Linked DNA regions of Homo sapiens: all the other regions are linked to region 3. Evidence: promoter capture Hi-C in 16 types of primary human blood cells and fetal thymus (Javierre and others, 2016). All regions are on one chromosome and are shown on one strand. Each heading gives the region's core, a stretch centred on a gene start or on the middle of the fragment in contact. The rest is flanking DNA. Distances are from core to core; before and after follow the strand shown.

What was found. The method cuts DNA at HindIII sites, captures the fragments that hold promoters and counts their contacts. A CHiCAGO score of 5 or more calls a contact.
Region 1: a contact is called between a fragment that was not itself captured here and the fragment with the promoter of HTR2A in region 3, in 3 of 17 cell types (megakaryocytes, M0 macrophages and M2 macrophages). The highest score is 7.0, in megakaryocytes.
Region 2: a fragment that was not itself captured here is called in contact with the fragment with the promoter of HTR2A in region 3 in 2 of 17 cell types (M0 macrophages and M1 macrophages); the score reaches 6.7 in M0 macrophages.
Region 4: a contact is called between a fragment that was not itself captured here and the fragment with the promoter of HTR2A in region 3, in 3 of 17 cell types (M2 macrophages, M0 macrophages and M1 macrophages). The highest score is 6.6, in M2 macrophages.
Region 5: a contact is called between a fragment that was not itself captured here and the fragment with the promoter of HTR2A in region 3, in 5 of 17 cell types (M2 macrophages, M0 macrophages, M1 macrophages and 2 more). The highest score is 16.6, in M2 macrophages.
Region 6: a fragment that was not itself captured here is called in contact with the fragment with the promoter of HTR2A in region 3 in 1 of 17 cell types (M2 macrophages); the score reaches 6.7 in M2 macrophages.
Region 7: a contact is called between a fragment that was not itself captured here and the fragment with the promoter of HTR2A in region 3, in 3 of 17 cell types (M2 macrophages, M0 macrophages and M1 macrophages). The highest score is 9.9, in M2 macrophages.

Annotation. Positions count from the first base shown.
Region 1 is chr13:47,494,527-47,498,741 of GRCh38, forward strand. No RefSeq gene overlaps it. Among named protein-coding and RNA genes, the nearest start is that of LINC00562, 440 kb to the right of the region's middle. The HindIII fragment of the contact is 1,961 bases long and covers 1,679-3,639 here.
Region 2 is chr13:47,521,263-47,525,202 of GRCh38, forward strand. No RefSeq gene overlaps it. Among named protein-coding and RNA genes, the nearest start is that of LINC00562, 410 kb to the right of the region's middle. RefSeq lists an enhancer at 73-1,272. The HindIII fragment of the contact is 761 bases long and covers 1,366-2,126 here.
Region 3 is chr13:46,895,140-46,899,181 of GRCh38, forward strand. HTR2A (5-hydroxytryptamine receptor 2A) reads right to left here and starts at 1,914. Exons shown (of 4, transcript NM_000621.5): 1 at 1,535-1,914; 2 at 356-1,095. The coding sequence starts at 767. The HindIII fragment of the contact is 5,377 bases long and covers 1-3,835 here.
Region 4 is chr13:47,589,865-47,593,604 of GRCh38, forward strand. No RefSeq gene overlaps it. Among named protein-coding and RNA genes, the nearest start is that of LINC00562, 340 kb to the right of the region's middle. The HindIII fragment of the contact is 1,646 bases long and covers 725-2,370 here.
Region 5 is chr13:47,460,397-47,464,601 of GRCh38, forward strand. No RefSeq gene overlaps it. Among named protein-coding and RNA genes, the nearest start is that of LINC00562, 470 kb to the right of the region's middle. The HindIII fragment of the contact is 3,022 bases long and covers 414-3,435 here.
Region 6 is chr13:47,547,700-47,551,906 of GRCh38, forward strand. No RefSeq gene overlaps it. Among named protein-coding and RNA genes, the nearest start is that of LINC00562, 380 kb to the right of the region's middle. The HindIII fragment of the contact is 4,880 bases long and covers 497-4,207 here.
Region 7 is chr13:47,606,328-47,610,287 of GRCh38, forward strand. No RefSeq gene overlaps it. Among named protein-coding and RNA genes, the nearest start is that of LINC00562, 320 kb to the right of the region's middle. The HindIII fragment of the contact is 6,911 bases long and covers 1-3,960 here.

The sequences.
Region 1 (4,215 bases), core at 1,409-3,908, 600 kb after region 3:
ACCAAAGCAGATACACAGATAACAAACACATGAAAAGATGCTCAGTATTATTAATCATTAGGGAAATGCAAACTCAAAGCACAATAAAATATCACTGTATACCTGCTAGAATGAATGAAGCCAGACAGAAAAGAGTAAATATCCATTGATTCTATTCATATGAAATTCTAGAAAATGCTAACAAATCAATAATGACAGGAAGCAGATCAGTGATCGTCTAGAGAAAGCTGTGTGAGGAGAATGAAACAGGGGGGAGGGAGCAACCCAAAAAAGGAAATACAAAGATGCATGAGGAAACTGTTGGTATGATGGATATGTGCCTTATCTTAATCATGATGATGGTTTCATGAGTGTGCGTATGTCAAAATGTACCAAAATGTGTATTTTAAATATGTGCAGTTTATTGTATTTCAATAATATATTTAAACAGCTGTAAAAATAGACAAAACTAACTTATTTTCAATAGAAATGCACACAAAAACGGTGAAACTACAAAACAGCAAGTAAATGATGACACTCAAAAGTCAGGGTACTGGCTGCCTTCAGTGGGGTTAACGGAGAGAATGGTTGGTGATCAGGGAGGAGTACATGGTGGCTTCCAAGGGGCCAGTTTGACCTGGGGTGGTGATTTGTGGGAGTTTGCTTTATAAAGGCTGTGTGTGTGTGTATGTGTGTGTAGCACTTTTCTGTATCTTAATTATATTTCATATAGCACACAAGGTAAAGAAGAAATAGAAGTGGATTAGGAAGGATGAAGGGAGGGAAGAAGGAAAGGAAGGAGGAGAATCAAAAGCAAGTAGGAGGATGGTGAAATGGAAAGATCACCCAATTAAGTACCTGGAGATCTAAGTTGCAGTTGTGTTTCTGCACATGAGTCAATGGAATATAGGAAAAGTCAATCAATCTCTTTTTTTTTTTTTTTTTTTTGAGACAGAGTCTCACTCTGTCGCCCAGGCTGGAGTGCAGTGGCGTGAACTCGGCTCAATGCAAGCTCCGCCTCCCGGGTTCACGCCATTCTCCTGCCTCAGCCTCCCGAGTAGCTGGGACTACAGGTGCCCGCCACCACGCCTGGCTAATTTTTTTTTTTTTTTGAATTTTTAAGAGAGACGGGGTTTCACCATGTTAGCCAGGATGGTCTTGATGTCCCAACCTCGTGATCCGCCCGCCTCAGCCTCCCAAAGTGCTGGGATTACAGGCATGAGCCACCGCACCCTGCCCAGTCAATCAATCTCTTTATGCCTCACTGATTTCCCTACCTGAGGTTTATTAGATGCCGCAGAGTCTGAAATAGTCGATTCCTAACAGGTCCTCCATCACTTTGAATCTTTAAGATCAGTCCCTCAACAAATAACTGCTAATGGACTAATGCTACTACTCAGATCAGAAGCAAAAACCCTTAAAAATCCAAAGGAATATGTTCCTGATATCAAAGCTTGTCCCCAGGGAAAGGCAGGGGCAACTTCAGTCATACTGTGTAAGAGAAGAGCAACTTTATGAGCTTGTCACTCTGTTCTTTCTTTAGTGCTGCAGTTGAAAGAGCACTGCAATTGGAGTAGAACGTTTTGAGAACAAGTAGTGGCTTCCCTTCCCACTGATTGTGTCTTAGTTTCATTTTCAAAGCAAGAATAACAACAGCTAACACTTCTATAGCGTGTATGGTGTATCAGGCACTGTTCTAAGCTTTACACGTATGTGTATTTACTCATTTAATTCTCACAATGCTGAAAGAGATATTATTATCCCCATTTTATGGGGTGGGGAGGGAACAAAGGCTGATAACAATGGTATGAGATTATTGTGAGCATCATCACATAAAATAATGTATATAAAATGTCTTCCTATACTTAAAACTACATGTATATATACAGTACTTTAACAATATACCAATATCAAGAGAACAAGAAGACACAGAAAATATTTGCAAAAGACACATCTGATAAAGGACTGTTGTCTAAAATATATGATGAATGCTTAAAACTCAACAAGAAAGAAAATAAATTTTAAAATGGGGAAAAGATCTGAATAGACACCTCACCAAAGAAGATATACAGGTGGCAATAAGCGTGTGAAAACGTGTTCAACATCATATGTCATTAGGGTAAGGCAAATTAAAACAGTAACGAGATGTCTTACATACCTGTTAGAATGGCAAAAATCCCAAACACTGACAATGTCACCAGTTGATAGTGGGGGAGTCTGTGGGTGTGTGGAGGCAGGGGCTATATGGGAACTCTACTTTCTGTTAAATTTTGCAATGAATCTAAAAATGCTTTAAAAAATCTATATTAAATACATATATACACATATATATGTGTAGATATGTGTGTGTATATATATATATGTATATATATATATACACACACACATACTAATGAAAGTAAACTCACCCTTTTACCATGATTTGAATATACTGTGATTGGATGAACTTAGTAACACACACACACACACACACACACACACACTCTCTACAACATTCCCGTTTAAGGATTTCTGATGTTAATTTGACAAATAACAGATTTTCTAAAGAGTTCTAACCATTTGCCACTTTAAAAGATTCAGTCATCCAGGCTTTTCCAGAAATTACAAAATGAACCTTTATACAAAATGCTTCTCATCCAGCATTGAGTTGAAAAGGAGAGACTACAAAGCATCTCCTCCCTTCATCCTGGCCCCTGCTCCAGGCACTGCTCATTCATCACTGTCATCACACAACCCTGCCTGTATTCCTCTCCTGCTTAGGAAGACAAGGTACATAAACATTTTGAAGGAATTCACTGGGTGCCTGATATATGATGAGAATTTTAAAATAAATTTACACCTCTGGTAACCAATAAAATAAAAGCACAGAACAAACTGTACTTTTTTTAATGAAAAAATCATAGATAACTAAGCTAAAAATTGTGGCCCTAGTATAGCTATTTAGAAAAATCCATTCGTCATATACCAAACAGATTAAAGTCCAAGTTGAAAATTTACATGCACTTTATAAACCCACCAGCTCTTTGGAAAGAACTTGAATTTCCCATGTGTATACTACATAAGTTTTTCAAGCATAAGCAATCCATTTGTCTTCATTTAGCCTTCAGCCACTTTTTATTCCCAAGGAATTGCTTGGCCATTGAAATACAACTTACTTTCAAGGTGGTATATTTCTCAGAAGAGAGTTTAACTTCCCAAGAGCCTGAGGCCTGAAGAGGAAATGTGGACCATCCTGGGAGGTTACGTATAAATCAGAGTTAGGAAATTTTCACAAAATACCCTGGGATATGAATGACCCTCCAGACTCACCATCAAAGTAGTATCAGTGAAGAAAGGAGCAAAGAAAGGCCTTCAAGCCCAATCTCCTACTTCCAAGTAGGACTGCACCAGCCACTGGCCTGGGTCATGTGAGGTCCAACTTATAGGAAGGCTTTGGAGTGGGACACTTAGGGGGAGCTTTGACTGTTATCAGGCAGAGTACAGCCAGGATATTGAAACCACCTAGTTATTTTAGCAGAGAATTTGATATAGACAATTATAGAGAACAGCAAAGGCAAAGGGAGACGGTGAATTGTCACAGAGGAAGTAAATGTGAGAAGCACAGCTACCACCCCCAGGGCTGAGGAACAATGAACGCTTTGGGGATTACTAGAATTTAAAAGCTTGGGTGAGAAGTCCTGCAGAACTGGGAACCAGACCTGTAAAGAGGGGAAACTGCTGGCTGGTGCAGGCTGGTGCTGGCTGCTCGGAGGGTGGCAACCAGGCTGCCTCTGGAAGTGTGGATGAAACTGTAAAGTAGAACAGACTGCCACGTCCAGCATGAAGAGCTAATTCTGAGACGATGTTGACAGCAACAGGAAGCAAAGCAGGAAAGAGTAAGTTCCTTCTCCTTTCCTCCTTTTAGCCTCCACCAGTGAAGAACCAAACAGGGAGCCACATGGCAAAAACTAAATGTGAATTGCAGGGTTCCAGCCCCATCACAGGAAAACAGAGTAAGGAAGATGGGTTTGTGCTGATAGTCAATAGCCTCACTGCCAATGTGACATCTAAATTGAGAGTGAGTGAGGCTTGACTACTGGAGCACGTAACCCTGAAAAAAGAGACTGTCTGGGCACGAGGCAGCAGGACAGAGCCCAGGAAATCAGTGGAGAGGAGAGAGCTGGAGTAGGGTGGTTGATGATGGGAGAGGCAGAGGAAATGAAAGCATTCTCTCACCACATAAACATCATAGGTAGG
Region 2 (3,940 bases), core at 496-2,995, 630 kb after region 3:
GACACAGGGCACTGATTGGCGCGTTTACAATCCTCCAGCTAGACAGAAAAGTTCTCCAAGTGCCCACTTGACCCAGGAAGTCCAACTGGCTTCATCTGTCAATCCCCCCTCTAAACAGGACACCCCAACTGCTGTTGGGAATTGGGTGATGACCGCTCTAGCTACTTACTGCTGGATAGGGGCGAAGAAGGGGCCCTGCAGTGTTAGTGTCCTCCAGAGGGGAACTCTCTAGGCCAGCCAAAGGGTCAGTGGGTTGGTCCAGGGGGTCCTCGGTAGAAGTTGTTAGTTGAGCTCATTTGGGGTTCCATTCGTAAGACCATCAGTAGCTTGATGGCCTCGATCCTGGAGGAAACAAATTTGATAAGGAGGTTAAAAACACAGAGCCCGAAGGCGAGTAATAGCAAGATGGCTGTCACAGGACCTAGAAAGGGGAGAAGCCATGTTGCCCAACTCCAGAGGTTGGTATAAGAGTTTGAAAGGTGTTGCCTGATGTCAGAAGCCTTTTCCTGTAAATGCTGGGTGGCATCTCGTATGATCCCTGACTGGTTAGTGTAAAAACAACACTCTTCCCCTAAGAAGGGGCAAAGTCCTCCTTTCTCAGCAGTAAGGAGGTCTAGGCCTCAGCGGTTTTGGAGAGTCACTGCTGCCAAAGAGTCTATTTGGGACCGTAGAGTAAGGATAGATTTTGTTATTTCTTGCAAACTGTCTGAGAAATCCTTTGATAGTGTGTGGTAGTAGGATAATGCAGTAGATAAACCTACTATTCTGGTTTCTGTAGCAGTAGCCATTCCTAACCCTATAAGTAGGGGTATTAGTTGTATGGCCCTGCACTGATGGACTTGAGCTTTGAGGAGCACTGATAGGGTCTGACTAGGATTACAGGCTTGAGCCACCACACCCAGCCCAAACTGAGATATTTTTTATAGTAACAGCAATGTTTATTAAAAAGTAGAGTCAAGATAACATGAGTAAACAAAAATGTAAGTCATCCTATTTCTGGGACACCCACTTCTCATAGCCACGGCAACCAGAAATAGACATCAGAGGTGACATGGACTCCAAAAATAGTTGTGACATATCAGCTTTACCAGAATTTATGATACTATGAAACTTTGACCAAGAAGATCTCAGGGTAAGTGTATTTTATAAATTCTGGTACTTTAAAATAGCAGAAAGTAACTAACTTTTCTTATTCAGGATAATTTTTTATTTCAAAATTCTGAAGTAATCATCCAATTCCTTCATTAAACTGGAATTAAGTGTTGGAGATAAAGTGGACTATTGGCATGATCTTAGAGAACTAAGTTTTATACCAAGTTTTGTAAATAAATAAAAGTATGTTTCAATATTGATTTTTAACTTCTAAGCTTTCCCAGGACAGATTTCTTCCCCAAATCTCCACATTTTAGTGCAATTTATAATTTTTGCAAAGTGTCAGCTGGGAACATTTGTATCTAAAACACAGTTTAAAGATTGAAAAGGGGCTGGACATGATGGCTCACTCCTGTAATTCCAACAGTTTTGGGAGGCCAAGGTGGGAGGATCACTCTAGCCCAGAAATTCAAGCCCAGCCTAGGCAACAGAGGGAGACCCCATCTCTACAAAAAATTTTTTAAAAAATCACCCAGGCATGGTGGTGTGCGTGTGTGGTCACAGCTCCTTGGGAAACTGAGGTGGGAAGATTGTTGAGCCCAGACAATGTAGGCTGCAGTGAGCTGTGATCCCAACACTGCACTCCAGCCTGCAGAGCTTAGCTAGAGCCTATCAATCAATCAATCAAATCAATGGATGCTAAATGTTTAAAAGCTATATAACCTTGTTGCTCCAAGCATTGATAATTTAGGAGTTCTTAATACCTCCTTCCATATTCAAGTCATTAATAAGTTATTTCGTATTCTTTCCCAAGTCTCTCTGAATTTTTTTCACCTTTCTCTGGTTCCATTATTGTCCCCTAAGCCCCAAATATGCCATTATCTCTAGCCTGGTCTACTGCAGCATTCTCCTAATTAGCTTCTCCTATCTACCTTTGCCCCTTTCCAATCCATTCTCCACATGGTACCAGAATAACCTTTTCAAAATGCAAATCTAGTTATATTACACCCCCACCCCACACAGAACTCTTCAAAAGCTTTTTATTTTCCCATAGCTAAAGGCCAAAATGTTTCACATGGCCATTAGCACCCTACTTGCTCTGGACCCTCAGAGCAAAATAATGTATTATCTTTGCTACAGTCAGAAAATACTGTTTTCTATATTTTTCTATTCATCTGGCTGAGTTTCTTAACAAATATATTACCTTTTTCCAAGATGCATTTTATTAGAAACAACTCTAATCAGCAGAGTCTACATACTTCATACCAGTTTGCTTTGGTCTACTATTTTACTGCTTTGAAGCAGCTTTAATTAATGGTTTGCTGTTTTCTCTGGAAAGCAAACACTTTACTCCAAAGAGAATGAAAAACCCCTGAGATAAATTGTACAATAATCAAGAAGCTGAATACAGTTTTCTCTAGGAATTGAAATCATTTCCTGAGAAATTCAATGTGCCTGTTTCACTGGAAGAAATTCTATTGCCAGCACTTTATTTATTGATTCTCTTAGGCTTGTGTGATCTTTTGTTCCATAAAATTGGGCAGTTTCAAGGTTTGATATACCTCAGCCAACTAACAGCAAGAAAACAATCTACCCATTTTCGGCACCATGCAGCAAAAAGTTGTCCTGAGCCTGACCTAGCCTGGGAACCTTACCTCTTCTCATCCTTTGTTCTCCTCTTTAATGCTAATCATGTGAACTGTGCTAAAAAAGCCAAGCCAAAAAAGTGAAATCCTGCTCTCAGCCCCAAGGACCTGTCACCTTTTATATGAAACTCAGCTTAACTGAGATCTAAGAGGTTCAGTTCTATAGAAGGTTTTACAGAATGACTGTCTGCTCCCAGGAAAGCTAACTTGGGGTCAGGCAACTAGATAATAGAGGAAGCTACCAATCTGCTTGAAAGACTTTTTATAAATCTTTTATATGCTGAGGTTTTAGGGGTTTTGTCCCAGCAGCCCAAGATCTTTGCCATGATTTCCAATATAGTCTTCCTTTGGATGTAACAGGGCTTTACTCATATTCAAGTTACTTTTTTTTTGGTGTATTCTCTTTATTCTGATCATTCTGATCATTTCCTTTATGTATTTCAAATACTGATATTAGACCTTAGAAGCTTTAATTATGTTTATGTGCATAGTATTATCTTCCCCAGAATCTTGTCTTTGAATCTGTTCATTTACAACTGTGTCCTTAGTGTTACATGTAACAATATTGATCCTCACGCTTGTGCCTTAGTAACACTGGTGGAACATTCCTTGTGAATAATGGCTGCATTCATTTTCTATTGCTGCAGTAACAAATGACCAGAAGCTTAGTGGTTTAAAACAACACAAATTTATTTTCTCAGAGTTCTGGAAGTTGGAAGTCTGAAATGTTTCTCACTGGGCTTAAATCAAGGTGCCAGCAGGGCTTGTTTTTCCCTGGAGGTTCTGAAGGGAGGATCCATTTTTTTTTGCCTCTTTTTGGCTTCTAGTGAGGTCTCATCTTTGGCTTGTGGCCCTTTTCTCCATCCTCAAAGCACTTCACTGCATTCTTCGCTTTTGCCACCACCCCATCTTTTTCTCTGCTGCTAGTCAAATCTCACCCTGCCTCTTTCATATAAGGATTCTTACAATGACATTTAAGGCCCACACAGATAATCCATAATAATCTCCCCAATTCAAGATCCTTAATCACATCTGCAAAGTCTCTAAGGTAACATTTCTACAGGTTCTGGGGAATAGGGCATGGGCATTTGGGGGACCATTATTTAGTCTACCATAATGCCCATATGGTTGATATCTTCACGATCACTCTTTTGGAGAGTCACAGAAAACTTGCAACATGGCCATGGTTCAAACCCCTAGCC
Region 3 (4,042 bases), core at 664-3,163:
AGATTCAGAATGATGGGTAAGTTATTGGTTTATGACTGTATGGGGTAATTTATAAAAATTTCTACATTAAATGTACATGTTTTGAAGCACAAAACTCTCCAATGATCATTTTTACACAGGATGTACGCGTTTTGAAGCACAAAACTCTCCAGTGATCACAGGTCATAGACTGTCTGATTTTTATGTGAAATCCCATTTTAAGAGTAAAATATAAGTAACATAGTAGGCTCTAGTCTATAAACAAAGACTTCTATTTATAGTTTGTTTGCCCCCTGAGCCCCATCTCATCTGCTGGTGGCATGCACATGCTCTTTATTACCAGTGCGAATATAGCTGGGAAACTAATGCCACTCACCATACAGGATGGTTAACATGGACACGGGCATGACAAGGAAACCCAGCAGCATATCAGCTATGGCAAGTGACATCAGGAAATAGTTGGTGGCATTCTGCAGCTTTTTCTCTAGGGACACTGCCATGATGACGAGTATGTTTCCAGCAATAGTTAGAATAATCACTACGGCTGTCAGTAAAGCAGACCAGTTTTTTTCCTGGAGATGAAGTAAGGAGAGACACGACGGTGAGAGGCACCCTTCACAGGAAAGGTTGGTTCGATTTTCAGAGTCGACTGTCCAGTTAAATGCATCAGAAGTGTTAGCTTCTCCGGAGTTAAAGTCATTACTGTAGAGCCTGGTGTCATCATTTAATTGCATTAGGGAGTTCGTAGTTGAGCTCAAAGAAGTATTTTCTTCACAAAGAATATCCATGTCTAAGCCAGAACTTGTAGCAGATGAGGTGTAGAAGGACTAACAGGTTATAGTTTCTGCTCACCATTCACCTTGATGTACCCACACTCTGTAACACTGAGGCTGGTGTACATGCTGTTCTCCCGGGGCTGGATTTTTGTCTTCCATTATTACAATGATAGTTAAAGAACTGAACTGTGGTGGCTGTAAGTTTTCTTCATTCACAATTTTAGGAGAGTCCACTGTTTGGTTTTATTATTTTCTCACCAAACCGAGGACAAAAAAGCAGAATGAACTTTTAGCATAGAGGTTGCAGGGTTTTTTTTGAGCGCTCGGGAAGATAAATGTCCTGGACAAAGAAGAAAAGTTTTATAACTACTGGGACTCTTGTTTAACTATATCTCATTTTGTTGGTTATGCCGATGGTACTAGTTTAGCAACAGTATTATTAAAATAGCATGCAATCAGAAACAGTGGGGATGTACACATTCTACATTAAGAAAGTCAATTAAAAATACATCCAGTGTTAATCCCATAGTAATTGGATGTACTTTGGGTTACAGTTCTCAGCCATTCTTAAGCTGAATTGCCACAGCTGCTGTCAGGAATTTCAGCTCCTATAATGTTGCTTAGCTAATAAAAGGAAAACAAAAAAGTCTTAAGTAAAGATTAGCAGACAACTTTCCTCCCTGGAAATTCTCATTGAAATGATTACATGTTGGCCAAGCATGATTTCAAACCGGAAAGAAAATTACACAGCAATAAAATATAGCGGCATGAGAACTTACATTTGTCTTCAGGGTCCACACATGAGATACATTTGTTATTCTGTGACTCGCTGCATCTCTCACAGTAATTAAACTGGTGTAGAGTCCCCTCTTCTTGATCTTCCACCAGCATAATATGATAGTAATTTGGTTTCTGTTTTGCTGACTTCAAAAACTGCATGCAAGAGCTGAGCCAGCTCCCGCACTGCTAGGATCCTGTTGGCTTCCTCTGGCACGGCTCGGCTGGGTTCCTCCCTCCCTGTGCGGCTCGCCTCAGCAGGCACACATTTAGAAATCATTCACGAGCCCCTCAAAGTCGCACAAAAGAACTGCATGGGAAAGTAGGAAGAGCTGTCTGCACCAAGGGACTCCTGGTTTCCACGGGAATGGAGTAGCTCTCTGACTGTCTCGTTCATTTCATCAGACCTCCCTCTATGTGTATGTCATAAGCTGCAAGGTAGCAACAGCCAGGAGGGCGGACCAAACAGGCTTTTTCTTCTCCCTCTTTTTGCTACATATTAATATTGGGAAGTTTTCCTTTGCTTTTGAGAGAAACTGGAGAAATGGCCTTTTGTGCAGATTCCCATTAAGGTAGGTAAGTGGCACTGTGGTAATTTTTTAGGCTGAAGGGTGAAGAGAGAACATAAATAAGGCTAGAAAACAGTATGTCCTCGGAGTGCTGTGAGTGTCCGGCACTTCCATCCAAAGCCAACAGTGTTTGTGTCCAGAGTGGAATTACTGACATTGGCCACATAGGCTCAGGGTGGCTAGGCACGTCTGTGGTGATAACTCTGATAAACTATTAGCACTATTTTTATTTAATAGATACACCATTGAACTGGCTTATTTTCTTCAGCAGAAATATGCCACCCAGATATTATTCAAAACCTCACATGTGGTAGGAAATAAGTTGGTTTCGCAGTACCAATTTTTTTCCCCCACCAGTAATGACAACTTGCCTTACTTGTAAAGAAAGCCCTTTCCCAAGTAGGTTTCTAAAGGAGGCAGTTCGATCTCTCTCTTTTTGCAGGCATGAAAATATTTTCCTCAATAGTTGGGTTTTGCTACAGTTCTATCACCTTCTGTTCTTCACATTCTCCCTGGACAAATTCAACCACTCTCATGCCTTCAATATGTTTGTGGCCAAGTCTGTACCTTCATAGCTGATTATTTCTCTCAGTTCCAGACCTAAATCTCTAGCTGCCCATTGGCTCCTTCCATGGTAGCCTGGGAGACCTTGACCTCAGCATCTTCCCTCACTCCGCATCCCCCTGCCCGGCTCTCAGTGCTTGTTCCTACCCATTGGCTTGCATGATGGAATCACCACCTCTTCAGACAGCTGCTGTTATCCGCGACTCTTCCTTCATTCTCGCTGCCAGATCCCACTTCGTCTCCGGTGCTACCTCTGTATGCGTGTTTCTCACATGTCCTCTCCTGCAGCCTGCAGCTGGCACCCTGTGGTCGAGATCTAGCCACCTATTTCCTGGGTGGGTGCCTTAGTGCCCCCCTCACTGCCATGCCTGCCACCCTCCTACCCCTCCACGTTAAATATGCACGCTGGCGAGCAGGCAGCGGAGAACACAGACCTTAGAGTTCCTTGGTTTTGGATCCTAGCTCTATCACTCATAAACAGTAGAACCTCGCCTCATCTAGTTGCTCCCTTTAAAGCTCAGTCTTCTCACTTGTAAAATGGGATAATACCTTCCTCATAAGATTGTAGTGAAGCTAAACTGAGATAATGTGTGTAAGTATTTGGCCCATGTCTGGCTTATAGGAGGTTCTCAAGTAATGTCAGCCACTTTCATTCCTATTGATATTCTTACTGATATTAATGACACAATTGGCATCACTCCCATGCCTACACTCCTGCAGTCCCTTCCTTGTGGGGCACATAACACTTTTCTTCATCTACCTGTACCCTGCTTGCCCCACTTTGCAGGCCTGGACTCTGGTTACTCTCCCAGTCAGCCTGTATGCAGACTGAACTTACATGTTTCTGACCATTTTTATGTCTCTGTACTTGTACTTCCCTGTGCCCGGAGTGCTCTTACCATTCCTTTTTTGTGTGTGTCCATCTGGCAAATTCGTGCTTAGTTCCAGAGCAGCTCTGGATCCCAGGCCTACCACTCACCACATCTGTAAGCGTGATTAAGCTACCTAATCTCTGTGTTTTAGTCTCCTCATCCGCAAGTAGGGAACATTAATAATAAAAAGACCTCAGGATTGACGTGAAAGCCAAATAAATTTACATATTTGCCTGGCACATTTTAAGCACTCAATAAAGGTTAGTTGCTATTATTCTTACTAAGTTTACTGTTCCTAAGCTTTCTGTAGCCCTCCTTCCCAGTGGAGGCAAAGACTATAGCACCTTCTGCAGCCTTCTATTTTTAACACATCATGTCTCATGTAAGCCTCATAAAGGCAGGAACTGTGTCTATCTTGTTAACAGCTGGGCGCATAGTGCTTAAGTATGTTTGTTGAATGAATGCATGACATCTGTGTAAATGTCTGTCTTCTCTATTAGATGTT
Region 4 (3,740 bases), core at 298-2,797, 690 kb after region 3:
GTAGGAAGAAAAGCAGTAATTGGCTGTACTGCCCTAGGGAAGGATTATCTTCTCCTGGGACTGGGGGTGGGGGCAGACAAAACTAATATGGCAAATGTTAGGGATTAGATTGAATGCATCAGGAGAAATACAAGGAGACAATGGACTTCATCTTGTAGCTCTGGGGATTCAAGGGTAAGGAAAATATGAAAAAAAAAATTTTTTTTTAAGAAAGAATACAGTAAAGAAGATAGATTTTTATATCTATATTGTAAAAATCTGCTCTAAAAGATTTCTCATCAGTTTTTTCCAATATTTTTGCTAATTTCCCCAGATAATTAATACTTATTCCAATTCCACATTGTCTTGTCCGTAAGAAAACACCTTAGACTGGACAATTTATAAAGAACAAAAATTTATTTATTATAGTTCTGGAGGCAGGGAAGTACAAGATCAAGGCACTGGAATTGGTGTATGGTGAGGGCTGCTCTCTGCTTCCAGAATGCTGCCTTGTTGTATCCTTACATGGAGGAAGGTGGAAGGGCAAGAGTGCATCTCTTTCAACCTTGAGTCCTTTTGTAGAAGCGCTAATCCCACTCATAAGAGTTGTACTTGTCCATTCTCACATTGTTATAAAGAAATACCTAAGACTGGGTAATTTAAAGACAAGAGGTTTAATTGGTTCTGCAGGCAGCACAGGAAGTATGGTGCTGGCATCTGCTCAGCTTCTGAGGAGGCCTCAGGAAGCTTACAATCATGGCAGAAGGTGAAGGGGTAGCAGGCATGTCACATGACCAGAACAGAAGCAAGAGTGAGGGGGGAGATGCTACATGCCTTTAAACAACCAGATCTCACAAGAACTCACTCACTATCATGAGGATAGTACCAAGGGGGATGGTGCTAACCATTCATCAGAAAACTGCCCCCATAATCCAGTCACCTCCCACCAGGCCCCACCTCCCACCTTGCAGATTACATTTTAATATAAGATTTGTACAAACTTAAACAAATTTACAAGAAAAAAATCAAACAACCCCATCAAAAAGTGGGTGAAGGATATGAACAGACACTTTTCAAAATAAGACATTTATGCAGCCAACAGACACAGGAAAAATGCTCATCATCACTGGCCATCAGAGAAAAGCAAATCAAAACCACAATGAGATACCATCTCACACCAGTTAGAATGGTGATCATTAAAAAAGGAAACAGGTGCTGGAGAGGATGTGGAGAAATAGGAACACTTTTACACTGTTGATGGGACTGTAAACTAGTTCAATCATTGTGCAAGACAGTGTGGCGATTCCTCAAGGATCTAGAACTAGAAATACCATTTGACCCAGCCATCCCATTACTGGGTATATACCCAAAGGATTATAAATCATGCTGCTATAAAGACACACGTATGTTTATTGTGGCACTATTCACAATAGCAAAGACCTGGAACCAACCCAATTGTCCATCAATGATAGACTGGATTAAGAAAATGTGGCACATATACACTATGGAATACTATGCAGCCATAAAAAAGGATGAGTTCATGTCCTTCATAGGGACATGGATGAAGCTGGAAAACATCATTCTGAGCAAACTATCACAAGGACAGAAAACCAAACACCACATGTTCTCACTCATAGGTGGGAATTGAACAATCAGAACACTTGAACACAGGGTGGAGAACATCACACACCAGGGCCTGTCATGGGGTGGGGGAAGGGGGCAGGGATAACATTAGGAGAAATACCTAATGTAAATGACGAGTTAATGGGTGTAGCACACCAACATGGCACGTGCATACATATGTAACAAACCTGCACATTGTGCACATGTACCCTAGAACTTGAAGTATAATAAAAAAAAAAAAAAAGATTTGGGTGGAGACATACATTGAAACTATATCAAGGGTGGTGCCCTCACAACATAATCACCTCCCAAAGGCCACACCTCTTAATACTGTTGTATTGGAGATTAAGTTTCTATTTGAATTTTGGAGAGAATACTATCATCCAAACCATGGCTTTCTGCCCCTGGTCTCCTAAAATTCATGTTCTTCTCACATACAAAATACATTCATTCCATCCCAATAGCTCGAAATATTCTTAACTCATTCCAGTATCAACTTTCAAGTTTGAGTCCAAAGTCTCATCTAAATATCATCTAAATCTGATATGGGTGAGACTCAAGGCACAATGCAACCTAAGGCAAATATCTCTCCAGCTGTAAAATCAGCTTGTTTGTGAAATCAAGCAAGTATGCACTTCCAAAATATAATCGTGGCACAAACATACGATAGGCATTCCCATTCCACAAGAGAAAACTAGGCAAGCATAAAGGGGTAACAGGTCTCAAGGAGGTCCAAAACCCAACAGGGAAAATAACATTAAATCTTAAAGCTTGAGAATAATCTTCTTTGACTCCATGTCCCACTTTTCAGACATACTGGGGCAGGAGTTGCATTCCCAAGAGTCCAGGGTACCCTGCCCAATGGCTTTTCTGGACACAGCCCACACTGCAACTCTAACAGGTTTGAGTCAGAGGCCTACAGCTCTCCCAAGCTGGCATTGCACACAGGTGGCTTTTCAGGCCTGGGGTCTCAGGGATGGCCCTGCTCCAGTGGCTCCACTAGGCATTGCCCTAAGTTGGGGCTCTCTGCAGTGGCCCTGACCCTAGGGCTCTGCTGGGCACTGCCCTAATTGGAGCTCTCTGTGGTAGCCCCACTCCTGCAGCAGGTCCAAAGCGTGGGCCTCAAGGTTCTCTGAGGCACCTTTGAAATCTAGGTGCAGGTAGTCATGCTCCCTCAGCTAATGCACTCTGTACACCTGCAGAGTTAGCACCTTACAAACACCATCAAGGTTTATGGCCTGTATCTTCTGAAGCAGGGACCCAAGCCCCACTGAGGCGCATTTGAGGCACAGCTAGTGACACTAAGGAATGCTGCTTTGAAATTCAGGGAGCAGAAACTTGAGAAGGCCCTGAGCAGTGAGCTCTGAGGTCCCTCTCTTGAAATCATTCTGCACTCTGGGCCTGTAATGGGAGTGGCAGCCTAGAACAACTCCAAAATGCCTCTGGAGTCATTCTTCCATTGTCTTAATGACTAGCACCTGACTTCCACCTATTTATACTAATCTTCTTTTCAAGTGTAGCTTTGTCACACCCTTGGTATTCTCTCCCAAACTCAGTTTGTCATTCTTTATATGGCCAGGCTAAGAATTTTTCAACTCTTTAAATTCTGCTTCTCTTTTGACTATAACTTCTGTCTTTCATTATTTTCTCTCTTTTCAAATTTCACTATAAGCAGCTGAGAAAAGCCATGTGGCACCCTGAACACTTTGCTTAGAGATTTCTTCTGCCAAATATCCTAGTTTATTGCTCTTAAGTTCTGCCTTCTACAGAGCATTAGGACATGGACATAATGCAGCCAAATTCTTTGCCACTTCATAACAAGGATGGCCTTTCTTCCAGTTTTCAATAAGATATTCCTCATTTCCATCTAAAATCTCATTAGAATGATCTTTACTTTCCATCTTTCTACCAGCATTCTGATCATAACCACTCAGATCATCTTAAGAAGATTCAGGCTCTGTTTACAGCTCTCCTCATCTTCTGAGCTCTCACCAGAATTACCATGGCAATGTAGGCTTTTTCTAGCCTCCACCGCTACAATCTTCCAGCATCCACCCATTACCCAGTTTCTTGGTATAAATTTGTTTGGCCTGCTATAACAAAATACTCTGTGTAGTTTATGAAGAATAGAAATGTGT
Region 5 (4,205 bases), core at 675-3,174, 570 kb after region 3:
ATATCTCTAAACAGATGCAGAATAATTAAAAAGAAATCCAGTACATATCTATAGAAACTCTTTAGAATTAGCAAAATGACTTATTTCAATATCCTCTGAGCAGCTCCTCTGGTTGAATTGCCAGCCTATATTAGGTACATTAGCCTAATACACATTTCATATGGCTTAATGGGGAATTAAAATGTAGTTTCCTTGCATTTGTTTTTCTTTTTTAGTTTATGACCCAGATAATTCCTGTAGTAGTGATATGTTTCCACGAATTTCCTTTGCCCAGAGATGGTTTGAGTGAGTACAGTTCCTTGCTGGGGCCAACCTTGGAGGTGTTTAGTGGTGGACAGAGGGTAAAAGGATTGTGTTTTCAATGTGGATAAGAAAAGTGTGGCTTTATGAGATGATATTTGCTGACTGCATCAAGCTTCCTATATTTCATATCTAAAAAAATCATAATTGGGAATTCCACCACCCTGGGAAATCCCTGGTCATTATCCACTCATTCTAAGAGCAGATAGGAATACCATGAATAATGGAAATCCATCCAGAGTGCTATTTATACTCTTAATTATTCTTGTATGTACCACCCAAAACAAAAACCAAACACACAAACTGTTTATCAATATAAAAAGTTGATAGGTATATTTGTTTTTGGTAATGATCATTACAGCCTAAAAGCTAACAATCCACATAAATCTAACAGTTTCTTAAAAATGAAACTATTTTGCACATAGGAAGATTCTTGTTCTACATTGCAGTTAAAAAAATTACTCTCAGTTGGCTGAGCACGGTGGCTCATGCCTGTAATCCCAGCACTTTGGGAGGCTGAAGCAGGCAAATCATGAGTTCAGGAGTTCGAGACCAGCCTGGCCAACATGGTGAAACCCTGTGTCTACTAAAAATACAAAAATTAGCCAGGTGTGGTGGTGGGCACCTGTAATCTCAGCTACTCGGGAGGCTGAGGCAGGAGAATTGCCTGAACCCGGGAGACGGAGGTTGCAGTGAGCCGAGATCGCGCCACTGTACTCCAGCCTGGGTGACAGAGTAAGACTCTGTGTTGGGGAAAAAAGCAAAACAAAAAAAAATTACTCTCAGTTACTCTCAGCTAAAACTCCTGGCCTTCATGAAAAATAATCTCTTTGAAAGTTCGTATTAATAACTTCAATATTGCATTAATGTAATTATCAGTCTTTAATGTATGTGGCATAACTGAAAACATTTTCAGTAACAACAATATATTTATTATTTATACCCAGCATGAAGAAGTTGAACTTGCTATGGAAACCAGGAATTTATTCATTATACTCAATTTTCTCTTCATAATAGAAATAATAATCCTAGCATTTTTAAAAACTGCCAACAGTTTCCACATTGTCTAGAAGCTGTTTTTTCTAGATTTACATGTCTTTTTTTTTTTTTTTTTTTTTTTTTTTTTTACCATTCTCATGTTTCTCAGCAGTCTCAACAGAAATTCAGAAATGTTGTTCCCAATAGATATGAAGGTGACTCCAGATCACTTCGTCCCCCACCTCTGCCACATCCCTTAGGTCATTTTCCTTGTAGCTTGATGCCCTCTTGCTCTCTCCTCTGCCTCCTTCCTTATCAAAACAGCTCCCAGAAACAGACCTGGTGTGAGTCATTTTCATGAATATGAATGTCAGTAGCTCTATTATCTTGTTTTCAGGCAAATGAGTTGCAGGTATCAGGAAATGGAAAAAAAAGAGGTGTTTTAAGAAAGTGAAATTTTTATAGTTATAGTAAATCACCCCACAGCTTCACCTTATTAGCCCCAACATAATATTAGTTTATGAGGGAGAAGAAGGAATGGTCATCTTAAATTTATAAATTAAATAAATCCATGTGGGGCTTCATGACCTCTATGATTTTGGTTGTTCACCCATGTGTTTGACAGAACACACTTCCCTTTAGGTTTTGTGACTGTAATCCAGTAATTTGTGACTTTTTATTCACCGATTTCTAATCTGTGCCTTTTCTGTCACTTTCTTTCTTTTCTTCAATTGAGGGACATCCACTCATACTTTTCTGCAACAGTTACTATGAGACTGAATGAAGGAGGATGAATGCAGAAATGAAAACTTAAGACAAAAGAAACTGTTTTAAAGAAAGGGTCAGGGGGCTCCTTCCTTCTAGGGAGCAAGGGCCTTGAGCTTCCACAGCCCTTTGTATTTATTGGGCAGAAAGAGCAGGGAGGAGGAGCTAACAACTGGTCAGCTGCTTGATTGATCACAGGCTCACATTATTGCTAACAGGCTTCAGATGTGCCTAATCACAAGAAACACTGCGCCTGGGGCGCGACTGCCCTCAGCATTCCCTCTGGGTGGCAGACGCAGTTTGTCAGTTTGCTAACAACCTGCTTTCATGAGAACAGTTTGCTGTTTACTCATATAGCCTCCAGTGGTACACTGAGTTGGTCACGACTCTCATTCTTTCGGCCTCCAACACTTTTCTATTCTCTGTTTCTTCCTTTCTTATTTTGCCAATTGCATTCTTCTGATGCTTTATTTCAAAAAGATGACTATACCTATTGCTCCTGTTGACCACCATTATCATTATATAAGAGATGATTTGCAAAATGGTGCACTAGCCACACGGTTTATGTCACCTGCTCCCTATTCCAGATGAAGAAGTCTAATCACAGGGGGTGAGTGACTTAAGTAAGGTCACATGGCAAGTGGCAGGTGGCCAGCAGCTTTTTCTCTCACCACCCAGGAGCTGTTAATCCATTTCTCAGTTGGCTGGACCAGCATGCTCCTGGGCAGAAAAGGCATAAGAAGGATGGATGGCCATGCCAAAGCAAAGACCAAGGTTCATGTGGAAGGGAGCCCTCTTCTGTAGCGATGGTCACCTGGGTCAGGCAGAACTCTTATTCTGAACAGTTTGACAATGAAAATTCCATAAGAGGGTGGGGAGCAAGACAGCTGACTAGAAGCAGCCACAATCGAGGCTCCTGTCAAAAAGAACCATAATAGCATGTGAATCCTGCACCAACAACCTAGGTATCCAGGTTCTCTCATCAGAACTGACTAGGCAGCTGGCATGATCCACAGAGAGGAAGGAAGAGCAGTGTGGTGCAGCAGCCCACCTGAGAGCCACAGGGAGCAGGGGAACCCCAGCACCCCCGCCAAAGGAGGCAGTGAGTGAGTGTGCCACCCCCTGGGGAAACCGTGCTTTTTCCATGGAACTGTGCGCCCCATGGAGCTGAAGACCCACTTACGAACCCATGCCACTGGGGCCTAGGGTCCCAACTCTGGAGCCGTGCAGATTCTCAACTGCCTCTCAGCTAGAATCTACTCAAGCCTACCAAGTCTTCAGGGAGAGGGGCAACCAGCACCACAGCTGCAGCTGCCTCCTGTCTGAGCTGTTTGAGCTCCTTGTGGGCGGAGAAGCAGCCAGCACTGGGACTCATAACGGCCTAATACGCTAAGCTTCCTGGGTGGGGGAAGGGCGGCATCCATCTCTATAGCTCCAAGCCATGCTTTTCCCCTGATGGAGCCAAGGAGGCTGGATGGCTTGGTCCCAAGTGGTGTCCCCCACAGCCCAACACACTGGCTGTGGCAGACTGCAGCCAGAGCGCCTCTTCAGGCCTGACTCTGACTCATCCAACCTCACTGGTTGGGGCCTCCCTGCAGGAAACTGAACAACTCCAGCCAGAGTCTCAGGGACAGAACCGTGATCTCTCTGGGCCTGAGCCCCTAGGGGGAGGAGTGGCCACAGTCTCTGCAGACCAGCAGATTTAGCCTTTCCTGATGGTAGTTCTGAGGAATCCAGGCAGCCCAAATGATTCTGTTTTCCCCAAGTGAAGCACACCCCCTCCACCAAGGGACAAAGTGCTTTGTTAAATGGGTCCTGTTCCCTGTGCCACCCAACTGGGTGAGACCCTCCAACAGGGATTGTCAGACACCCTATACAGGAGCGATCCTACTGGCATCAGGTTGGTGACCCTCGAGGTCAGAGATCACAGAAGAAGGAGCAGGCACCCATCTTTGCTGTTCTCTAGCCTCCTTGAGTGACATCTCTAGGTACAGAAGTGAACTAGATGAACAGGGCCGGATGTGAACCCCCAGCAAACCGCAGCGGCCTGAGAGAAGAGGGACCTGACCACTGAAAGAAAAACAAACAGAAAGCAACAACAACATCAACAACAAAAAAAGTGTACACAAAAACCCCATCCAAGGGTCAGGAGCCTCAAAGAT
Region 6 (4,207 bases), core at 1,687-4,186, 650 kb after region 3:
CATGCTGACTGCCAGAGGGTACATGCTTCCACCAGGGGACACAGTAAGGGTCCCATTAAACTCTCAGCTATATCTACCATATCATCAGGAGGAGGTAGAACTGCTACTACACAATGGGGGCAGGTGTTTGACACACTGGTGACCCACTGGGGTATATCCTAGTACTTCCTTGCCCAGCATTGATAGTGAACGGACAAGTACAGCAACCATGACCAGAGGCAGGCATGATGGCCAGGAGCTCAGGCCTCTCAGGAATAAAGGTAAGCCACCTAGACCAGAAGAGGTCCTAGCCAAGGATGAGGGGAATGGGTAGGAGAGGCAAGAGGTGAAGAGTATTGGTGCTGTCAGAATCTCACTGCAGAAATAGGGGGTTGGGTTCATCTGATTTGCCTCCTCAGTTTTCCCAGGAAAAGAAACCAACAAGAATCATAAAGGAGCCATTCCCAGACAGGATGATAGTATATGAAGCAAGCAAGTCTGAGCAGCACAAGAAGTAAGCTTCAGGAGATGCTGTGATGTGTCACCCAGATACCCCCTGCAGAACCAATGTTCAGAGTGTCAGCTATCTTAAGTGTTGAGAGCTGAGCCACTCCTCAAGAATTGCTATCATTGAAGGGAGTTGCCTCACTAAAGATTAAACCCTCTCTGGGGCAAGTCCATATCTCATGGCTAGTTAATACAGAGGCACAACCCTTGCCTCAATCGAGGGCAACTCTGAATGACCATCCCAACTCTAGAGCTCTCCATGGGATCACCAGAGGCCTTTGTTGTAACTGCATGGCCTTCAACTCGACACTGTTCAATCCTGCTCTCATCCAGCCCCAAAGGTCATTGTTCCTGACAGCATTTACCAAGAAACTTCTTGAATAAACATTTCCAGCTCACAGACCTTTTCCTAGGAAACGTACCATAAATCAGCCAATACGTGTGAGGATTCATCTGGAACTCTGTTTTGACATGTAATGGGGGATGAAAACAATTTCCAATTCATAGCATTGTTGTAAAGAGTCAACAAGTTAAATTAACAAAACAGCTGTGCAAACTGAAGAGCAACACAAATTTAACATGACATTTTTATTATTGTTATTACTTTTGTGTGTCAGATGTAGCAACCAAAGAGAGGTAGTGGTCTTGCCATGCTTGTCTGCAACAAAGGAACTTTTAAAACAGTGTTAGTGAATACACTATGGCTTAATGTTCAGAACTTGATATCTAGAGGCAGACAAACCTTTCTCTCTATCTCGTCCTAGGCATTTACCTAATAAATTGAAGACACTGGTGATTATATTGAAGACATTAGCGATTATAGATTATGACATAATGCCTTTTATCTGCTGAACACTTTATTTTAGAATGAAAGCCTACATTTAATTAGCCATGGGTTTTTATCATACATCATTTGTGTGTATGTTAAAAGGAAAATATGTGTGAAAGAAATTGGTTAATGTATTTCTAAAACCTGTTCACACACACAGTTTGACTCTTCTGAATCACTGGACAACTATGTTTTTCCACACCCTATCATTTCGGTGTCCATCCAGAGCATGGGTAATGCAGTGTTTTGTAAGGAAACCTCAAGCTACAGGAGCTGACTTCACAGTTATGCAGAGCTAGCCAACGTTTAATTCCAAATTGGAAAATGGTGCTAACAAAATCTAATATACCGTCTCTCTCACCATCCCCACAACCCATTTGGCTCTTGAGGATTAAAGCCTCACCACTGCCCCCTGGGATTTTCTTCTAAATCTTTGGTACACATTCTGCAGGTTGTCCTGTCACTCTTGATGTCTCTGCCTGAACAGACATGACTCTAGCTGGCTGAAGCAATTGTAAGACTCCATTTTTCAGATGCAGTGTGATGACATCTGACAAAATATTTTAAAAAGAGTCTGTCTTAAAAAATCAAACAACAGAATAACCTCTCTAAAGCTCTGTTTCCTTATAAGACAGGATAATAGTACCTACCTCTCATGGATGTTGTGAGGACTGAATGAGATAGTCCAGAGGGAGTGATTAGCAGTGTCTGGCACAAAGTAAGCATTTAATAAGTGATACTTACTGTTATAATTATTAGTTAACCTTGGCTGAAAAATGATTTTCTGTAAATACCACGTATTGCTTTATCCACGCTCCAGTTTGCTCTTCCCACCTTTATGTGTATATGTGAGGAGCTAATGACAGGGTGTTCTTTCCTTCAGTTTCTCCTCGGGATTTCATTATAGGTGCTTCCTGTTGCAGTAATTGATAGTTTCATATCCCCAGGTGAGGGATGGGTCACAATTCTGGGTGGTTCCAACATTTTGATGCATACCACCCTTGTGCCTTGTATCTGAACAAGAACTCAGGTGTAAGGGTTTCAAATGGATTTGAAAGAAATGCAGCAGGAAAGCTCCCCTTTGGACATTCTAGAGAGACTAAAAGCCCTCCAAGCAGAAAACTAGGGCAGAGGCTTCACGAGTTTAAGGTGTCAGGCGATGTGCCTATAATGTGCCCATAATGTGCCCAGGAGTATAGGAGCCATTCCCAGATGGATCAGTAGCTGAAGAATGACCACCCAATGACTGCTTTAATTACTTACCAACCTGAACGGGAAGTATGCTTATGAGTTCTTGAAGCCTCCTTTCTCTAATTTGGTTTTCTATTTATCCCTGGTATAAAGCCTCCTCTCTTACCAGGCTTGAAGTTCTCACTATTATTCTTTCTCTGGGAAACAGTGAAAATAAAGACACTAAGTCTAGAAGAGTAATGCAAAACAAAACAAAAAAGCACATTTTACCTAGGACATGAAGGTGCCCATCAGAGCTCTCTCATTGCTAAAATTAAGTTATTAATGAGATTGTACTTTCATGTTTCTCAAATAGTCTAACTAGAGTATTACCTGGGTGAAATTCAAAATAAGAATATACCTTAATTTTTCTGAGATCTGAATTTAAATGTCTGTATTATTATAAACATGACATTTTTTGTACTAAAGACAGATCCCCATGGAACATTTGAATCAACATATTCCATGATCCTATTATTGCTTTTAAAAATATTGTCTTAGCGCATTGGGGCTACTGTAACAAAATACCATACATTTGGTGACTTATAAACAACACAAATTTATTTCTCACAGTTCTGGAGGTTGGAAGGTCCCAGATTAAGGTATTGGCGAGTTCAGTAACTGGTGAGATCCCATTTCCTTATTTATAGATAGAGGCTTCTCGCTGCATCCACTGGGGCCTCTTTTTTTTTTTTTTTTTTTTTCTCAGACAGAGTCTCGCTCTGTCCCCCAGGCTGGAGTGCAGTGGCGTGACCTCGGCTCACTGCAAGCTCCGCCTCCCGGGTTCATGCCATTCTCCTGCCTCAGCCTCCCGAGTAACTGGGACTACAGGTGCCCGCCACCATGACCAGCTAATTTTTTGTATTTTTAGTAGAGACGGGGTTTCATTGTGTTGGCCAGGATGGTCTCGATCTCCTGACCTTGTGATCTGCCCACCTTGCCCTCCCAAAGTGCTGGGATTACAGGCATGAGCCACCGCGCCCGGCCTCTTTTAAAAAGGCACTAATCTCATTCATGAGGGCTCCTCCCTCGGGATTAAATCACCTACCAAAGACCCCCCACCTCCTAATACCACCACATTAGTGATTAGGTTTCAACATATGAATGTGGAGGGGACACAAACATTCAGACCATAGCCATTACCAAACATATCTCTGTTCCAAGGAAGGGGAGTAAAACCTCTGTGCAACTGTTGTTTCAACTCCATGGCTGCTTATTATGACCACTGATGTTTACATTATTTATAGAAGCCAGAATATGGTGGGTTTTGTTTTCTTTGATTATATTACTCAGAAACCTTTTGTTTCCTAGATGCTTCCTATCCTTCCTTATAAGAATTACAAACATGCCAGCAATCATTTTCAAGCACCTTAGTTTCACTAGTTATCAGGGATGCAGATGAGCAAAGATAAATTCAAAGAAACATGCTTAAAGTGAGGGAATTTTTTTTTACCAGACCTAGAACAAAATATACACAATTCAGATTTCACAGACAGACAGGGTTTTGTAGGTGACCATATGCTAACACTGAATGGAACATCAGCTTCATTTGAGATGTGAAGGATTTCACTTGTTATCAGTCCACTGTAGAAGACTTTGTGCCATGGTTATGCATATTAGTTGTGATGACAAAATAAGAGGCAGATTCTACATAACATGCAC
Region 7 (3,960 bases), core at 1,447-3,946, 710 kb after region 3:
GAAATCTAGCAGCAGCCAGAAAAAAAAGTAATAAAATGGCAACAGTAAGTTACTTATTAATAACACTGGATGTAAACAGTCTCAATTCTCCAAGTAAAAGGTATAGAGTGGCTGAATAAATAAAGAAAACCCAACTATATGATGCCTTCAAGAAACCCAATTCACTGATGAAGACACACATAGACTGAAAGTGAAGGGGTAGAAAAAATATTCCATGCAACTGGAAACCAAGAAAGAGCAGGAATGTCTATATTTATATCAAATAAAATTAACTAGGATTATAAACAGACACCAAGAAGATCATTATATTATGAAAAAAGGGTCAATTCAGTAAGAAGATATAACAATTATAAATATCTATACACCCAACAAAGAAGCTCCCAAGTATATAAAGCAAACATTAATAGATCTAAAGGGAAAGATAGATTGCAATGTAATAATAGTAGAAGACTTTAACACCCCACTGTCAGTAATGGAGAGACATAAAGTCAACAAAAAAGCATTGGAGTTAAACTGCACCCCGGATCGAATAGGCCTAACTGGCATTTATGGAACATGTCACCCAACTTCTGCAGAATACACTTTCTTTTCATCAGCATATGGAGGTATATTTTCCAGAATAATCCATATTTTAATCCACCACACAAGTCTGAATGAATTCAAAATAAAAGGAATCATATCGAGTATCTTTTCTGACCACAGTGGAATAAAACTGGAAATCAATAAGAGAAACCTTGGGAAATACACAAACACATGGAAACTAAATAACATGCTTCTGCATGAACGATGGGTCAATAAAAATAAATTAAGAAAATTTTAATAATTTCTTGAAAGAAAATGGAAATACAACATACTAAGATCTATGGCATACAGCAAAAATAGTACTAAGAGGGAATTTATATAATAATAAATGGCTATATCATAAAAGTAGAAGGACTTCAAATAAACAGACTAACAATGCAACTCAATGAACTAGAAAATCAAGAACAAACCCAAAACTAATAGAAGAAAACAAATAATAAAGGTCAGGGGAAAAAATAATGAAATTAAGACCAAAAAATCAGTACATAAGATAAACAAAATGAAAAGTTGGGTTTTTTTGATAAGACTAACAAAATTGACAAATGCTTAGCAACACTAAGACAAGAGAGAAGATTCAAATAAAATCAGAAATGAAAAAAGGAGACATAACAACTGAGACCTCAGAAATACAGAGAATCATTAGAGATAATTAGGAACAACTATATGCCAACAAATTGGAAAACTTACAAGAAACTGATAAATTCCTTGACACATACAACCAAGATTGAACCATGAAGAAATAGAAAACTTCCACAAACCAATAACAAATAACAAGATTGATGCCATAATAAAAATGTCTCTCATCAAAGAAAAGACCAGGATCTGATGGATTCGCTGCTGAATTCTACCCGACATCTAAAGAATAATCTCAATCTGAAACTCTTCAAAAAAAAATTGAATAGAGGGAATACTTTCAAACTCATTTACAGAGCCATTATTACCTTGATATCAAAATCAGATAAGGGCACAACAAGAAAACTACAGGTCAATATCGTTGATGAACATAGATGTAAAAATCTTCAACAAAATACTAGCAAACCAAATACAACAACACATTAAAAAGATCATTCACCATGATTAAGTAGGATTCATCACAAGGGTACAAGGATGGTTCAACATGCGCAAATCAATAAACATGATACATCACATTAATATAATCAAGAACAAAAATCATGGTTGTCTCAATAGATGCTGAAAAAACATTTGATAAAATTCAACATCTCTTTATGATGAAAAACTGTCATCAAATTGAATGTAGACAAAAACACATCTCAAAATAATAAAGACTATATATAAGAAACCCACAGCTAACATTATAGTGAACATAGAAAAATTGAAGGCCTTTCCTCCAAGGATTGTAATAAGACAAGGATGCCCACTTTAGCCACTTTTTGTTCAACACAATACTGGAAGTCTTTGCCAGAGAAATTAGGCAAGAAAAAGAAATAAAGGGTATCCAAATTAGAAAGGAGGAAGTCAAATGAGCCTTGCTCACAGACAACATGATCTTATACCTAGGTAAACCTAAAGAATTAACAAAAAAAAACTTTAGAAATAATAAACAAATTTGGTAAAGTTGCAGGATATAAAGTCCACATACAAAAATCAGTAGCATTTATAAATACCGACAGTGAACAATCTGAAGAAATAAAGAAAGCAATCCCGTTTACAATACTACAAAGAATAGAAAATACTTACGAATCAATCTAACCAAATAGGTGACACAGCTATACAAAAAAACTATAAAACTCTGATGAAAATATTGAAGAAGACACAATTAATATTGTTCAAGTAGACATGCTATCCAAAGTAATTTATAGATTCAACACAATCACTATCAAAATACCAATGACATTATTCACATAAATAGAAAAACAATTCAACATTCATATAGAACCACAAGAGTGCTCAAACAGTCAAAGCAATCCTACGTGAAAAGAATAAAACTGGAGGCATCATGCTCCCTGACTTCAAAATTTACTACAAAGCTATAGTAATCGAAATTGCATGTTACTGGCTTAAAAATAGACATAGACCGTTGGAACAGAATAGAGAACCCAAATATGAATTCATGCATTTACAATCAACTCATCTTTAACAAAGGCGCCAAAAACATTTGTTGGGAAAGGACAGTGTCTTCAATAAATGGTGCTGGGATAACTACATGCTACTACTTACTACTAGATAATTACATGCAGAAGAATGAAACTAGACCCCTATCTTTCACCATACACAAAAATCATATTTAAAATGGTTAAAGACTTAAATTTAAAACCTGAAACCATGAAAATATTAGAAAAAAATTGAGCAATGCTTCATTGGTCTGGGCAAAGAATTTTTGTGTAAGACCCCAAAGCACAGACAACCAAAGCAAAAATAGGCAAATAGTATTCCATCAAGCTAAACAGCTTCTGCACAGCAAAAGAAATAAAGTGAAGAGAAAACGTACAGCAGGGCAGAAGATATTTGCAAATTGTCCATCTGATAAGGGATTAATAACCAGGATATAGAAGGAGCTCAAACAACTCAATAGCAAGAAAAACAAATAATTGATTAAAAATGGGCAAAATATCTGAACAGACATTTCCCAAAAGAAGACATGCAAATGGCCAACAGGTATATGAAAAATGCTCAGTATCACTAATCATCAGAGAAATACAAATCAAAACCACAATGAGATATCATCTCATTTTAGCTAAAATGACTTTTATCAAAAAGACAGACAATAAAAGATACTGGTGAGGATGTGGAGAGAGGGGAACCCTCATACATTGTTGGTGGGAATATAAATGAGTACTGCCACTATGGAGAACAGTATAGAGGTTCCTCAAAAAACTTAAAAATAGAACCCCTGTATGATCCAGCAGTTCCACTACTGGGTATATATAAAAAGAAAGGAAATCAATATATTGAAGAGATATCGGCCCTCCCATGTTTATTTCAGCACTACTCACAATAGCCAAATATGGAATCAACCTAAGAGCTCATCAATGGATAAATGGATAAAGGAAATCTGATTTATATACATAACAGAATGTGATTCAGCCATAAAAAAATGAAATCCTGTCATTTGCAGCTACATGGATGAAACTAGAGGTAGGCTGTTATCTTAAGTGAAATAAACCATGCACAGAGAGACAAATATTGCATGTTCTCACTCATATTGGAAGCTAAAAAAGTAGATCTCATGAAGATAGAGAGTAGATTGGTGGTTACCAGAGGCCAGGAAAACTAGGGAGAAGGGGTAAGAAAGGGGGGAAAAAATAATATAAATGTACATATTACCACTGAATGGTACCCTTAAAAATGGGAAAGATGATAAATTTTGTGTATTTTACCTCAATAAAAAAATTAAAATAGAATTAAAAGATAAAATGA